Regions from separate parts of the Homo sapiens genome. Here region 2 is linked to region 1. The links are contacts of gene promoters, found by promoter capture Hi-C in blood cells and fetal thymus (Javierre and others, 2016). All regions are on one chromosome and are shown on one strand. The core of a region is centred on a gene start or on the middle of the fragment in contact, and the rest is flanking DNA. Distances in the headings are between cores, read along the strand shown. Region 1 holds the start of HSPA4L (heat shock protein family A (Hsp70) member 4 like). Region 2 holds the start of PLK4 (polo like kinase 4).

What was found. The method cuts DNA at HindIII sites, captures the fragments that hold promoters and counts their contacts. A CHiCAGO score of 5 or more calls a contact.
Region 2: a fragment that was not itself captured here is called in contact with the fragment with the promoter of HSPA4L in region 1 in 1 of 17 cell types (megakaryocytes); the score reaches 7.1 in megakaryocytes.

Annotation. Positions count from the first base shown.
Region 1 is chr4:127,777,781-127,785,034 of GRCh38, forward strand. It overlaps HSPA4L (heat shock protein family A (Hsp70) member 4 like), which reads left to right and starts at 4,542. Exons shown (of 19, transcript NM_014278.4): 1 at 4,542-4,877. The coding sequence starts at 4,771. RefSeq lists silencers at 387-526, 3,903-4,072, 4,353-4,422 and enhancers at 4,563-4,712, 4,612-5,604, 5,213-5,292, 6,704-6,943. The HindIII fragment of the contact is 4,318 bases long and covers 751-5,068 here.
Region 2 is chr4:127,875,214-127,882,467 of GRCh38, forward strand. It overlaps PLK4 (polo like kinase 4), which reads left to right and starts at 5,680. Exons shown (of 16, transcript NM_014264.5): 1 at 5,680-5,951; 2 at 6,618-6,713. The coding sequence starts at 5,922. RefSeq lists an enhancer at 5,764-6,003. The HindIII fragment of the contact is 1,908 bases long and covers 2,749-4,656 here.

The DNA.
Region 1 (7,254 bases), core at 3,292-5,791:
GAACTCAAGAAGAAGTCAAGTTGAATGCAAGCAGCAACAAAGTAAAGAAATTGTTAAACATGTTAGTAGACCTAGATAAACACTGCCTGTGAAAGGAAAAATACATACTTTTTGGTGAGAGGAGTGACTTACCTTGATGAATTTCAGAATAATTTAGCCTCTTTCTCACTTTTCTTGGGAGCCTACACACATTCTTTTCTCTTGCTCTTTGATATGAGTTTATAGGAGAAGACCCTAATGTAACATTAGTGTGTATTACTGTGACTAGATAGATAAGTCTACTTAATTCTGGGGTGCAATAATTAACAAACCCATAGGCACCTAAGACATTTCTCTAATGTTAATGTTAGGTACACAGCTAAGGCTAATCCTCAGAGAAGCAGCCTGCCTACAAAATCACACCTATAGGCAAAAATAGAGCAGCCTGGGGAAAACTCAGGCTGCACCTGCACAGATAAGCAGGCAGGGTCCAGCACAGAAGCCTTTTGTTCTTTATGTGATTGGCAGGCTCCCAGGAAAAAGTGTCCTCCCCTTTTCAGACATGTACACGGTGGGCTCCATGGGAACTTCTGTAGGGAGAAGGAGGGATTACCTAAATTAAGCCCGCAGTTACAGAAACAAGAGAAGTGGCACTTTGTGCTTGCCTAGAGACATACCCACAACTACATAAGATAAGGGGAGTTGCACAGACAGCTACTAATAAGAGAAACTACTCAAACAGCTACAGAGATGAGGGGAGTTTCTTATAAAAGCTTTTGAATTCAACTCTAAAAACAGCAACCCACTAGGGCTCCCCTCTACACTGTGCAGAGGTTTCTTCTTCTGCTTATTAAACTTTCGCTCCTATCTCACCCTTTGCATCCACGCTCCTTCGGTCGTGAGACAACGAACTCGGATAACACCTTAGACAACAAGACCAGTGACCATTGGCCTGTTTCATTTTATCCTCATTGCCTACTCTCCAACTTCAATTCTTTGAAAATTCAGGTAGGAATATAGCTAAAATGGTACGTAGAAGGAAATTTACAGCTTCAAGTGTATGTATTAGAAAACAAGAAACTGAAAATCAATGAACTAGAAAAGGAATAAACAAAAATAGTGAAACAAAGAGCAGATGGAACAGAAAACAAAGACAATTAAGTCAGGCAAGAAAACCAAAAGCTGGTTCTTTTAACAAACCATACTGACAGGAACCAAGAAAAGGAAGAGATTAAAATAAAGAATATTAAGAATGAAAAAGATGTACATATAACTACTGAAGAGATTTTTTTAAGTGAATAATCAACTTTGTGCCAACAAACTTGAAAACCTAGATGAAATGGTAAATTTTTAATAATACAAATAACCAATAATGATTCAAGAATAATAGAAAACATAGACCATAACCACTAAAGAAATTTAATCATTCATCATAAACCTCATAAACTCTAGGCTAAGATGGTTTACAGCCCTTTTTTTTTTTTTTTTTTTTTTTGAGACGGAGTTTCTCTCTTGTTGCCCAGGTTGGAGTGCAATGACGCAATCTCGGCTCACCACAACCTCCGCCTCCGAGGTTCAAGCAATTCTCCTGCCTCAGCCTCCTGTGTAGCTGGAATTACAGGCATGTGCCACCACGCCCGGCTAATTTTGTATTTTTAGCAGAGATGGGTTTTCGCCATGTTGGTCAGGCTGGTCTCAAACTCCTGACCTCAGGTGATCCGCCCGCCTCGGCCCCCAAAGTGCTGGGATTACAAGCGTGAGCCACCCCGCCCAGCCGGTTTACAGGCTTTTCTTACCAAAACTATCAGAAGGGAACAAAAAAGAGGAAACCCCTTTGGCTTCCTCTATGAGGCGATAATCTTGACGCCAATAAAAAGAGTAAAGAAAGAAAAAGGCCAGTTTCATTTATGAATATAGATGTAAAGATCCTTCATAAAATAATCACAAGCCAAAACAATCAGAACCATCATGGCCTTTCTGGTTTATCCCAGGGATACAAGGATGTTAGAAAACTCTAGTAACGTTATTCATTGTATTAACAAATTAAAGGGCAACAAACAGGTCATTAGATGATGGTTAACATTTGTTAAGTTTCAGTATCCACTTACAGGCGTGTGAGTGGATTTTATGAGAAAAATCTCTTAGCAAAGTAGGAATAGAAGATAATTTTGTTAACTTTCTTACATCATAAACACAAAGGTATTTAATGTTAGGGACAAGACAAGGATGCTTACCACTACTGTTTATTTTCAAAATTTTACTGGAGCACTTAAGCAACATAATCCAGGCAAAACAATAAGAAACAGAAGAAATAGAAATGAAGAAATTCATTATTTCCCAGGCCATATTGTTCTATACACAGAAAATCCAAGAAATTCTGCAAATACTTGAATTTAGAATACAGCAAGGTTGCTGGATACATGACCAATGTACATGAATCAGGATCATTCAGCAGCTAAGCATAGCTAGCATTTATTGACCGTTTGGTGCCAGGGACTGATGCAGTGCTTACATTATTTAATCATAAAAACAGCCCAGTAGGCATATTTGTCCTCATTTTAACAGACTGAACCTGTGGCTTGGAGCATTAAGTAACTTGCCAAACGTTATACAGGTAGTAAGTTAGGCAAGCCTGGTACTACAACCCAAATCTGTGTGACCCCAAAGCCCGTCATGGTTTTAACCACTGGGTACTCTCACGTCCTGCCAGTAATTGTAAGGAACGTGATGATAACACCACTTTGCTCCTGGCCTCAACTTCCTTTTTACTTTGATATTTTAAGTGGTATTTTTAATAGGAAAAAAAAAAAACATTCTTACACCCTCAAGTTGTATAGACAACATGGATAAACTAATGGAATTAAGATAAATTAATTGTACTAGGAGAATTTCAGGATATTCTGGAATAAATCTAGATAGTGATGGCCGATGTCAGAAGAGGTGTGTGAGGAGAACTGGTGGAAGTCACAGGCGCCCAGCAGGACCAGGGCCCAGGGTTCAGTCGCAGGGCAACGCCCAATCCCTGTTCTGCTCACGAGCTGCCCGCTGGGACGCCGAGTTCTGCGGTGTCTCAGAGCGCAGCTTCACCCAGGGGCTCCACGTCTCCTGAGTGCTCATGAAGGGAAGAGAGGCCTGATTGATTTCTTCAATGTAGAGACCAGAGCCCAAGCAATACTGTACAATCCAGTTGCCTCAGTATTGCCCTTGAAAATGGATTTCACGTTCATTCTAACAGCAGCAGGAACTATAGCCACCCTTGCTGCTGCTGCTGCTGTAGCAACATTATTAATAGTAAAAAATCTAAGTTATTTAAAGAAGTGGACAACTAGGGATAATCAGAATACTAAAGAATCTAGTAAACAAAACAAACAAACAAAAAAACACGCCTGTTTTCAAGATGGATACCAAAATGGAACAGGAAAACACACAAAGAATTGGATGAGAAGGAACAGAGACTAGATGAAGAGGACGGGGAGGAACAGGGAACAGACCAAGGACTGGCAGAGAAGGAACAGGGCACACACGTAAAAGTGAACGAAAAGCAACAAGACAGCCAAATTTCTTAAGTGTAACATAAAACTTGGTTAATTACAGACAGGCAACACATGCCGATCAAACCAAGAGGGAGGGCGCTGGACCACACTGGGCTCTTTTTTGAGGACCACAGGGCAGCGGCTGGAGGCTAAAGCACAGACTTGGCTGGTGTGAGTGGCACACTTAATTAAGGTCACTTTCCTGTAAAACTGGTTTCCAGAGACAAGGGTCAGCGGCGGGGCCAGCATCTTTTAGAAAGGTGTGAGGAAAGGTACGTGGAGGGAAAGTTGTCAGTGTGATCTTATTTCTTGACAGAAGTTTGACTTTTGATATTTCAAATCCTGCTGATGAAAAAAGAAAAAAACCTAACATGTGCTCATCCCGCTTTCGCACAAGAGTCTGTCCCGGGCTCGGCAGCTCCCCCGGGGCTGGACAGGGCGGAGCGGCGGACGTCGGACAATGCGCGCCACCTCACAGAGCCGGGCGCGGCGGGCCTCCAGCCACAAGGGGAGGGCGCCGGGCTGCACATGGGCCCCTCGGGGAGGCGAGGCCTGCGGGCGAGCCCTTCTGAGGGCAGGGGGTGAGGGGGCGGCGCCCGCCAGCCAGGACAGCATCCTGCCGCCGTGACAAGCACGCCTCCGGTTGCCAAAACAACCCAAAAATGTGCCTCAAAACACGTTCGCAAAGCCCCGGGCCGGCCGGTCGCCTGCCTCTCACCTAGCCCGACCGCCCGACGTCCTACTGCCGAGCGAGGGCGAGCAAGCCAATGTGCCTAGCCTCCTTTCCCCGATCCTCCCCGCCCCGCCTTCCCGCTTCTCCCGCCCCCGGATAGCTCAGCAGCCTCCATTTTCCAGATCTTTCTCGAACCCGCAGCTTCTTGGGCAGCCGTTGCCCGAGTGCTGACGGAAGCGGCCGAAGTCCGGGCCCGGAGCTGGCTCGGGCGCGGAGCGGAGGCTCGCGCGCCTCCCGGGCAGCCGAGCGCGCAGGCGCAGGTCCCAGTAACCGCCGGTTGGAGGCGGCCGAACCGCAGTAGGGAAAGACCCAGGCTGCGGGACGCGGTGCAGGCTGCGGCGCTGACGGCCTCTGCTCCTTCCGCGGGTTTCCGACTCCCTGCCCTAGATTTTCTGCTTAGCGACTTGGGGTCCCCTCTCGTTTGCTTCTGGTAGGAGTCGCAATCCCAGCAGCAATAGCCCAGAAGAGGACACGGTTCCCGTACCGAAGGGTTCAGTACCAGCAGCCCGACCATCACGCGGCGGGATGTCTGTGGTTGGCATTGACCTCGGCTTTCTCAACTGCTACATTGCTGTCGCGAGAAGTGGCGGCATCGAGACCATCGCCAATGAGTACAGCGACAGGTGTACCCCGTAAGTGCCTCTGCTGAGCATCACCTCGACCCTAAGAAACGTTTTTCTCTCCCGTCCTTAACGTTTGTCCTGTCTGCTCGCTTCCTCGGATTTTCCCCTAACGTGCGCCGAACCCCGAGATGACAGGTGCAACCCGTCAACCGCAGTCCCTAGAGACCGCCGGGTGGCAGTCGGACTTCCTCGCCCCGCAAAGCTTCTTTTCCTTCAAGGACGAGGGACCGCACTAGTTTGCGCAGCTCTCTTTTCTGTACCTACGCACGTCCCCTGCCTCGTGCCGCTGTCCCCCAACGCCTCTTTTGCTTGCGAGGAAGAGGTTGCTGTGGGACAGCCCCTGGCGTCCGGAATATTGAGAAAGATCTCCGGTTGCCTCTAACGAGGTTTACGTGGGATTATCGGCCCCGCGCCAGCTGCCCTCCTTCCTTTCCCCGTCCCTCTGGGTGACAGCTTTTTCTCAGAAAAGTAAAAAGTCAGCTTCGGCTGCACACGTCAGAGATGAATTGCAGGTTCATCTGGCCCCGAAAGCCTTTTTTTTTTTTTTAAGGGCGGGGAGTGAGGCATGTGGGGTTTTACAAAACCCAGTGCCCTTGAGAACTGCAGGTAATGGAGCCGGTTTACAGGGCCAGGTCAATGGTGCATTGATAGGGAGAGCCTCGGGATGGGAGTCACTGGCCTTGTGCATTGGTAACTACGTCAGTTGCTGGAATGCGGCGGGGTTGGGTCGGACCAAAAGCGTGTTTCTGCAGAGTGAATTGCCGGAGTCGGGGGCAGCTGTCCCGTATAAACATGACTGTGGAGTGATTCTATTATGAACGCTTAATGAAAGGCTTAGGAGGAGCGGCGTTATGTCATGGAAACATGTTTCCACATGTTCCGTTGTTTCTCTGGCCTGGGAAGTTTGTTGGCAAGGAATATAATGAAGTAATTCTGAAATATGAAAAACTAGTTGCTGCTTATAGGCTGCTGTTACTGGTAATTTTATGAGGAAACCAACTGTATGAAACCTATATTACTTTTTATGGAAAGGTAATTTGGCATCTTAATTTGACCGTTCTGAATGGTCCAAAATATAATACCTTAACTATACTAAAACAAGGTCAGTGTCCAATGGTCTTTAAATGCCTCATTTACTATTCTATGGAAAGCTTTAAAATATGGCAAAAAGATGTTGAAGAGTAGCTCACTTGAAGCAGTCTGTGCTTTGATTTCTTTCCAAGAAGATTCTAGAAGGTTTTATACCTTTTTTCGTAGATGTACACGTTTCTTCTATTGAAATTTTAAACGTTTTGGACGTTTATATTTTCAATACATGGGCATAGATAAGGTAATCCTCAATAATGTTTGAACTCTTCTACTTTTTACATCTTTTTCTGGCTTTTATGCACAGTGAGAGGCCGAAACAGTAACTGTGAAGTCGATGAATTCGTCTCTACAAGGTTTTATATTAAGCCACAACAAATACTGGCTTTCGCCAGAAACAGACCGGAAATTCCACTCTCCACCTTCAGCAGAGTAGGGGTTAAAAATGGGAGCAATCTTTGGCTTCATTGACTCTCAACCTATAGAGAAAAAACTGAGAGGTAGGGTGGACATTCTTTTAGTCCTTAAAGCCATATCCTAAAAGATCAGAAACCAGAACAGTAAGAAAGATCGATCTGCATTTCCAGGCTGAGAAATCTCTTTAGCAGTGAGTGAACCTGTGATTCTTTAAAGATCCTGGCCGGCCAGACTTAGTTCTTTAAAAAGTGGGCTTCTAGAGTCTTCTAAAAGTCTCTTTGTTATTGTACTTAGGCATATTCGCTGGTTCTGTGTGGTTGAGAAGTAATGTGATATTTCTGATTTGTGTGCTAGAAAGCCAATAGTAATATCTAGATTTAATGAGCCTAATCTAAACTAGAAAGTTCTTAAAAAGTGAAAGGATATTCTCACTTAGCTTGCATCAGCAACTCTTCTCTCCATGGCTGGGCACTGTCACTTACCTCAGAAGTGTATCTTTTGTTGTTTCTGAACAAAAGTACTTCATGGTAGTGTAGTGCTCTTACACTATGTATTACTTTGTGGGTCCAATTGTTGAGGAAAAACATAGCCCTTCCGGGCCTCAGGACATTTATCCATCAATTCAACACCGATCATGCAAAAAGCATTGTAACTATTAGATAACCTTTAACTTCTCTAATACACCACAGTATTTAATAACACACATAAATAAAATGTTAGCTTTGCAAATAAAATGTTTTTCATATTCCAATTGCTTACATCAAGGTAATGTGACATATTTTCTAAGATGTGAATACATTATAAAATGATCCTATGAAAAGAGGAAAGAAATGTTCAATTTAGTTGTTTTCAGCATTCATACATTTTACGTTTCTTTCATTAA
Region 2 (7,254 bases), core at 2,453-4,952, 97 kb after region 1:
TGCCCCCATCTTTTTCTCTTTTTTCTTGTGGGGGTCCAATAACGTATATTGGTCTTTTAAAAATATCGTTCTACAGATCACTGAAGCTGTATTCATTATTTTTTTTGAGGCGGTGGCTCATAAGATTTTTTAAGTACTATTTATCTATCATCAAGTTGCCTGATTCCTTCATCTGTCATCCCCACTCTACTATTAAGCCCATTCAGCAAAGTCTTCATTTGCCCTTTTTTCAGGTCTATGATTTCCATTTGGTTCTTTTTCTAGTTCCTATTTCTGTGTTGAAATTCCTACTTGCTCATTCATTACTAGCATAAATTCCTTTGCATTCTGGAGCATAATAGTTATAATAGCTACTTTTAAATCCTTAAGTACTAATTCTTTCATCTTGGTCAACTTTGTGGTTGGTCTCTATTGATTCTGTTTTGTCTCTTTTAATTTCATGTCACATTTTCTTATTTTGTTAATATCTACTAATTTTAGATTTTAGCCTGGGCATTTTGAAAACTTCATGTTAGATACAATAGATTTTATTATATTTGTCTTAAAAAGTACCATTATGTTGTTTTTATAGACATCTAAATGAGCTAAACTCAAATTCCAAACTATCTTCCTTGGAGTGGGCAGCAGCTAAAAAAAATCTGTGCAATTAACATTAAAATCTGCACAGCACATGTGTAATTCAGGGCACAGCCAAATATTTGGGCAGAGCTTTTGCATAGAATTTATGGTTTCCCTCTCTCACCCTGTATGCTTTTCTACTCACTTTTAGCTGCTGTGGTCAGCCCAAATTCTGGTCTGATTCCTCAGTTGGTTAAGACTGCACAGACATGGCACCACCTGGAACTTCTCACTCAAAGAGTCATAAAAAAGTTAAACTCACCCTATGACACATTTCTAAAAATTATTGAACTTTGAAATTCATTATTGCACTGTTCTCTCTACCTATCATTTTGCCTGAAAATTTTTTATAATAAAAAATTCCATGCTCAATATAAATATTTTAAAAATTAAGGCTATGGGAGGTAGAAAATGAAAGTTCCCTGCAATCCCTTCATCTATACATAGCCCCTATATATAGCCAATAGACTATCTTAGTAAAGAATAATCTCTTGACTCAGACTATCTCAGAGGAAAACATTATTTCAAGTAAAGATATGAGATGAGATAGTCTTAACACAGCTTCCTCAGAATTACACATCACTATTCCTTAAAGTGCTGTTGAGAGCACTAGCTTTGTTCTGCATTTTCTTAAACCGTAGAAGTAACTAAAAGTTATACAAAGAGGGGAAAGGATTTTGTGTATCTCAGCTGTAATATTTACTTAATTGTAATAACATTGTAAACTCTGAATATTGAGAAACAAAAGTTACGAGGTAGCCAGGCATGGTGACTCATGCCTGCAATCCCAGCACTTTGGGAGGCTGAGGCAGGTGGATCACTTGAAGTCTGGAGTTTAAGACCAGCCTGGCCAACATGGCAAAACCCTGTCTCTATGAAAAATACAAAAATTAGCAGAGCATGGTGGCACATATCTATAATACCAGCTACTTGGGAGGCTGGGGCACAAGAATTGCTTGAACCCAGGAGGCAGAGGTTGCAGTAAGCCAAGATTGTGCCACTGCACTCCAGCCTAGGCGACAGAGGGGGACTCTGTCTCAAAAAAAAAAAAAGTTAGGCCGGACGCGGTGGCTCATATCTGTAATCCCAGCACTTTGGGAGGCGGAGGCAGGCAGATCACCTGAGGTCAGGAGTTCGAGACCAGCCTGACCAACATGGAGAAACCCCGTCTCTATTAAAAATACACAAAAATTAGCCAGGCTTGGTGGTACATGCCTGTAATCCCAGCTACTCAGGAGGCTGAGGCAGGAGAATCGCTTGAACCTGGAAGGCAGAGGTTGCAGTGAGCTGAGATCGCACCATTGCACCCCAGCCTGGGCAAAGGGCGAAACTCAGTCTCAAAGAAAAAACAAAAACTTATGAGGTAATTACATTTAGAGAATGAGGTCACAAGAACTGAGGACACAAAGGGATGAAAGTGGCCGGGCATGGTGCCTCGCACCTGTAATCCCAGCACTTTGGGAGGCTGAGGCAGATGGATCACCTGAGGTCAGGAGTTCGAGACCAGCCTGGCCAACATGGTGAAATCCCGTCTCTACTAAAAATACAAAAATTAGCTAGGTGTGGTGGCGTGTGCCTGTAATCCCAGCTACTCAGGAGGCTGAGGCAGGAGAATCACTTGAACCTGGGAGACAGAGGTTGCAGTGAGCTGAGATCGTGCCATTGCACTCCAGCCTGGGTGACAGAGCAAGTCGCTGTGTCAAAAAAAGAAAAAGAAAAGGGGTGAAAGTAAAAGCAACTAAAGAAATAGTTCCTCATCTTCCACAATAGAAAGTTAATAGAGCTAAATCTATAACTGAAAAAAATCAAAAAAGAAAATAAGCATGTTATTTAGAAATACGGTAGAATATATAAAAATGAACAGTTAAATGAATTGAAGAGGGTTGCATCTGGGAAGCAGAAATGCAGAGTTTGTATGCTTGTTATTAATATTTGTTATAAAACAATTTGATTTTTAAAATTATGTATATATGGTAACAGTGATTAAATAGAAATTTAAGGTAGTAGGAACAACTATGTGAAATTAGATTAGAATTGGTGATATCAGCTTGAACTCATGATTACTAATATTTTTTTCTTTAGTTTCATCTGCTGAAAAGGCATAGATGCAATGACACCTAAGTCGCAATAAGCTTGCTAAGCTCCCAGATATTGTTTTTTAAGCACCATTTTCTACTGTAAGGTGTCAGGACACTTTGCAGAAATGGCTCCTTTCAGTGCTGGGTGAGAGAAAGCCCAAAATAAAATTAGAACATCTTGTTGTACCAGAAAGTAAAGAACTGCTTTTATATATATATGTCCTATCAAAACAGCTAGGTTGAAAGGAGCTCTCACTAAACAAATCTCAGACACTTTGAACACCAAAATAAGATGGTAATGGATTATAATCCTTTGAGGAAATGGATTATAACTGATTCAATAATCTGGGAATCCCTAAATTCATACTGAAAACACAGATGTTCCTTGAATTATGAGGGGGCTACATCCCAATAAATTCATCATGAGTCAAAAATATCCTAAGTCAAAAAATGCATTTAATAGCCTTATAAATACATTGTAAAGACAAAATATCATAAATTGTACCATCATAATAATAAGTTGGGGACCATCTGTATATCATTAAACAGGGCAAAATGTAGGGCTCTTCTGGTTGTTTTTTGTTTGTTTGTTTGTTTGGAGACAGGGTATCGCTCTGTCGCCCAGGCTGTGGTGCAGTGGCATGAACCTGGCACACTGCAGCCTTTGCCACCCAGGCTCAAGTGATCTTTCCACCTCAGCTTCCTGAGTGGCTGGGACCACAGGTGCAAGTCACCTCCCCTGGCTAATTTTTGTATTTTTTGTAGAGACTGTGTTTCCACTATTTTGCCCAGGCTGATCTGGAACTCCTGGGCTCAAGCGATCTGCTTGCCTCAACTTCCCAAAGTGCTGGGATCACAGACTTGAGCCACCACACCAGGCGGGGCTCATCTTTTTGGCAAAATTGTTTCTAATACATATGGAAAGAGAACAATTATCATTTTGTAACTATCATAGTAAAGACTAGTTTAGGAAAAATCAATAATACTGCTAAATTGTGAGAGAGGGGTTTGCTGAGGAGCAGAATATTTGCAGGAAATTCAAGTGTCTCCCCCATAGATTGCTTATTAGTTGCAAGTAGAAAACCAGCAATTTATACAGTGGAGAAACTGGGATCAAATTAACATCACTAATGAGAGACAAACAATATCACGTGCCTCCAAATGTGGTCTCTTGGAAAGAATATAACCTCATGTATGTAATATTACAATCAGGAATACATAACCTGAATCTAATCATGAGGAAACACGAGACAAACCCAAAGTAGGGAAGATTCTGTAAAATAACTGGCCCTTAACACACACACACACACACACACACACTCCTAAGAGTGGTGACAATGTGTTAATTTGATTGTTGTAATCATTTCACAATGTATATGAAATCATCATGCTGTACAACTTGAATAAATACAATTTTTGTCAACTATACCTCAGTAATACTGGAATGAACAAATGAACGAATGATAAATAATTGGCCTGCACTCTTCAAAAATCTCAATGTCACAAAAATACAAATGCTGAGGAACTCTTCCATATTAAAGGAAATTAAAAAGATATGGTAACTAAATACGGTATGTGATCCTGTACTAGATCTATACTGGAAGGAAAAAATGTTAAATAAAGACATTACTGGAACAATTGACAAATCGGAATATGAACTGTAGATTAGATTAAATATAAATATTGTATCAATGCTAAATATCCTTAATTTGATAAACATACAAGAGGATACCCTGGTTCTTAAGAAATTCACACTTTAGAAATAAGGGGTATAAGAGCATAGTGTATGTAACCTATTTTAGAATGATTCATAAAATACAAATAATAGGCTTATTTATATATTTATACATGTATATTACACATGAAGAATAGTAAAAACAAGTGTGGCAAAATGTTAAGAATTGGTTAATCTGAGTAAAGGACAACAGGAGTTCTCTATTATTTTTACAACTTTTCTGTAAGCTTAAAATTATTTGAAACTAAAAAGTTTAAAAAAAAAAATGGGCCGGGCATGGAGGCTCACGCCTGTATTCCTAGCACTTTGGGAAGCCGACGCAGGCGGATCACCTGAGGTCAGGAGTTCGAGACCAGCCTGGCCAACATGGTGAAACCCCGTCTCTACTAAAAATACAAAAATTAGCCAGTCGTGGTGGCGCGTACCTGTAAATCCCAGCTACCCGGGAGACTGAGGAAGGAGAATCGCTGGAACCCAGGAGATGGAGGCTGCAGTGAGCCGAGATCGAGTCACTGCACTCCAGCCTGGGCGACAGAGCGAGACTCCATCTCAAAAGAAAAAAGAAAAAGAAAAAGAAATACACACTAACATCAAGGAAAAGAGCTTTCACTTAATAACAGAAGATCTAAGTTTGTGCGCTACTTCTGTTTGTTAAATATCCTTCCTTAAGCATCACACTTTTCTCACCTGCAAAACACCATCCCAAACTTACAGAGGTCTCTTTTGATCCATACAAATTATGTGTATGAGAGATCTAACTGTAAATTATTATACAAATGACATTATAATATTAAATACTTAGGAGTTTGCCAAAATAAAGAATGGAGTTCGTTTTCTTAAGGTACCGTACACATTAACTACAGTTATAACAAACTACGGAATAAGCGGTAGTGGTGTAAACGGTGTTCCTTAAAGGAAGGTAATGTTTTTTGCCCTGTTCCGTCAAGTCTTAAACGCTTGACATTTTAAAATAGTTTTAAACCCTTTCCGGAATTAGAAGTGGTATTTCGGACCGTGAAGTAACCGATCAGCCATAAGTGTCCCATCTTTAAGGCCTGCTCTTTTACCCGTCTTGCAGAAGTTCTTCCGAGAGTGGGCCCGAGACAGCCTCCCGCCCGAACTAAACTCTCCGCAGCGCTTCCGGCCCTTGGCCCCGAAGTCTAGAACCCTGGGCCGGCCGCAAAGGAAGGTCTGCCGCGCATGCGCGCCCCGGCGCAGCCTATCCGGAGCGATCCATCTCGTTACGTCACCACCAGCCTAGCTCGGACGGCAAGCGGCGGGAGATTTTCAAAATGGGAGCCCAGAGGCACCGCCCAGGCCTCGGAAGGTGTCAGGGAGAACTTTCCGTGGTTTCAGCGTCGTCGCCTGGAGCGGCGGTTTAGAGAGCCGAGCCTGATGGGCGCCAAGGCCGGCTGGCTGCTTGGAGCGCTGCCTCGAAGGGACTGCGTGAAGGAAGCTAATCCGGAGAACCCAGGCCAGAGCCTGGAAATATGGCGACCTGCATCGGGGAGAAGATCGAGGTGAAAAGACTCGGCAGTCTGCAGCGGGGCGGGTGGGAGTAATTGTGGGAGGACACGAGACCGCTGTGGGAAGGGGAGCGAACGAAGCTAACGGCTGCGGGGCGGGCACCGAGGTGCTTAGGGAGGGTCCCAACGGCCCAGACCCCTGCTGTTTAGGGGCGGAGCGGCCCGCCCCTCAAGAGACAAGAGTAGGGAAGGCGGGACAGGTGAGTCCCTCCCCGCCCGGCAGTGTCCCGAGGCACTGCGGCTTTCTTTCAGCAATCCCGCCCGAGCTACCGCGTTAGAGCAGGGCAGGGCTACCTCCCACTTCTCCAAGGGGATGGCGGTTATCTCCGGCGGGAGCTGCGGCGGGATTCTGACCGAGCCCTCCGCTCCCGGGGATTGGCTGGAGATGGGAGGAGGGCGCTTAGGCTGCACTGAGGTTGAGGAACCAGATCACTAGGGTGCACCATCACCCTGAGCTTCCAGTCCAGCCTGGAAGCGCAGGTATCCCCGCACGGAGTCAACATGCCTTCCACCCTAGACACCTGCTGCATCGAGGTGTAATACCCGCTTGAATTTTGTCAAATTCCCCACTCGATCCATTTTATCTTCTTTTTCCAGCCCCTTCCCATCTTCCTTTCTACTGTGAGTCATCACACATAATCTTTAATTTTAACTTTTAAGGATTTTAAAGTTGGAAATCTGCTTGGTAAAGGATCATTTGCTGGTGTCTACAGAGCTGAGTCCATTCACACTGGTTTGGAAGTTGCAATCAAAATGGTAAGAATAAACTAATCAACTTCTCTCCTGTACTTTGCAAGTAACTAGAGAGGTATCAGAGATGTCAGAAACTCCTTGTCTACTAGCCTTTCCTTTGATTATAGTGTAAGGAACACTTTACATAGGCAGAAGACAATAGTGCCAAGTCCAGCCGTTGAACTTAAAAATATTTTAGGAAAGCCTTGACCTTGCTTAAGTAAGTTTTATCTTCATTAATGTTCAGTAGACCTCGTATGTGGTGTAATTATCCATACTTGGAGTAATGAGTAGAAATCAACTAACAAATAATTTGTTTATAGTTCACTGTGTATAATTTTGTATTTCCCTGTAACATACAAAATATTATTCTTGATTGTTAGAAGTCAGCCTAATAGGAGTAACATAAACATAAGCAAATTAAGAATTATTTGTCAGCCGGGTGGGTGGCTCACACCTGTAATCTCAACGCTTTGGGAGGCTGAGGCAGGTGGATCACCTGAGCTCAGGAGTTTGAAAACAACTGTGCAACATGGTGAAACCTCCTCTCTACCAAAAATACAAA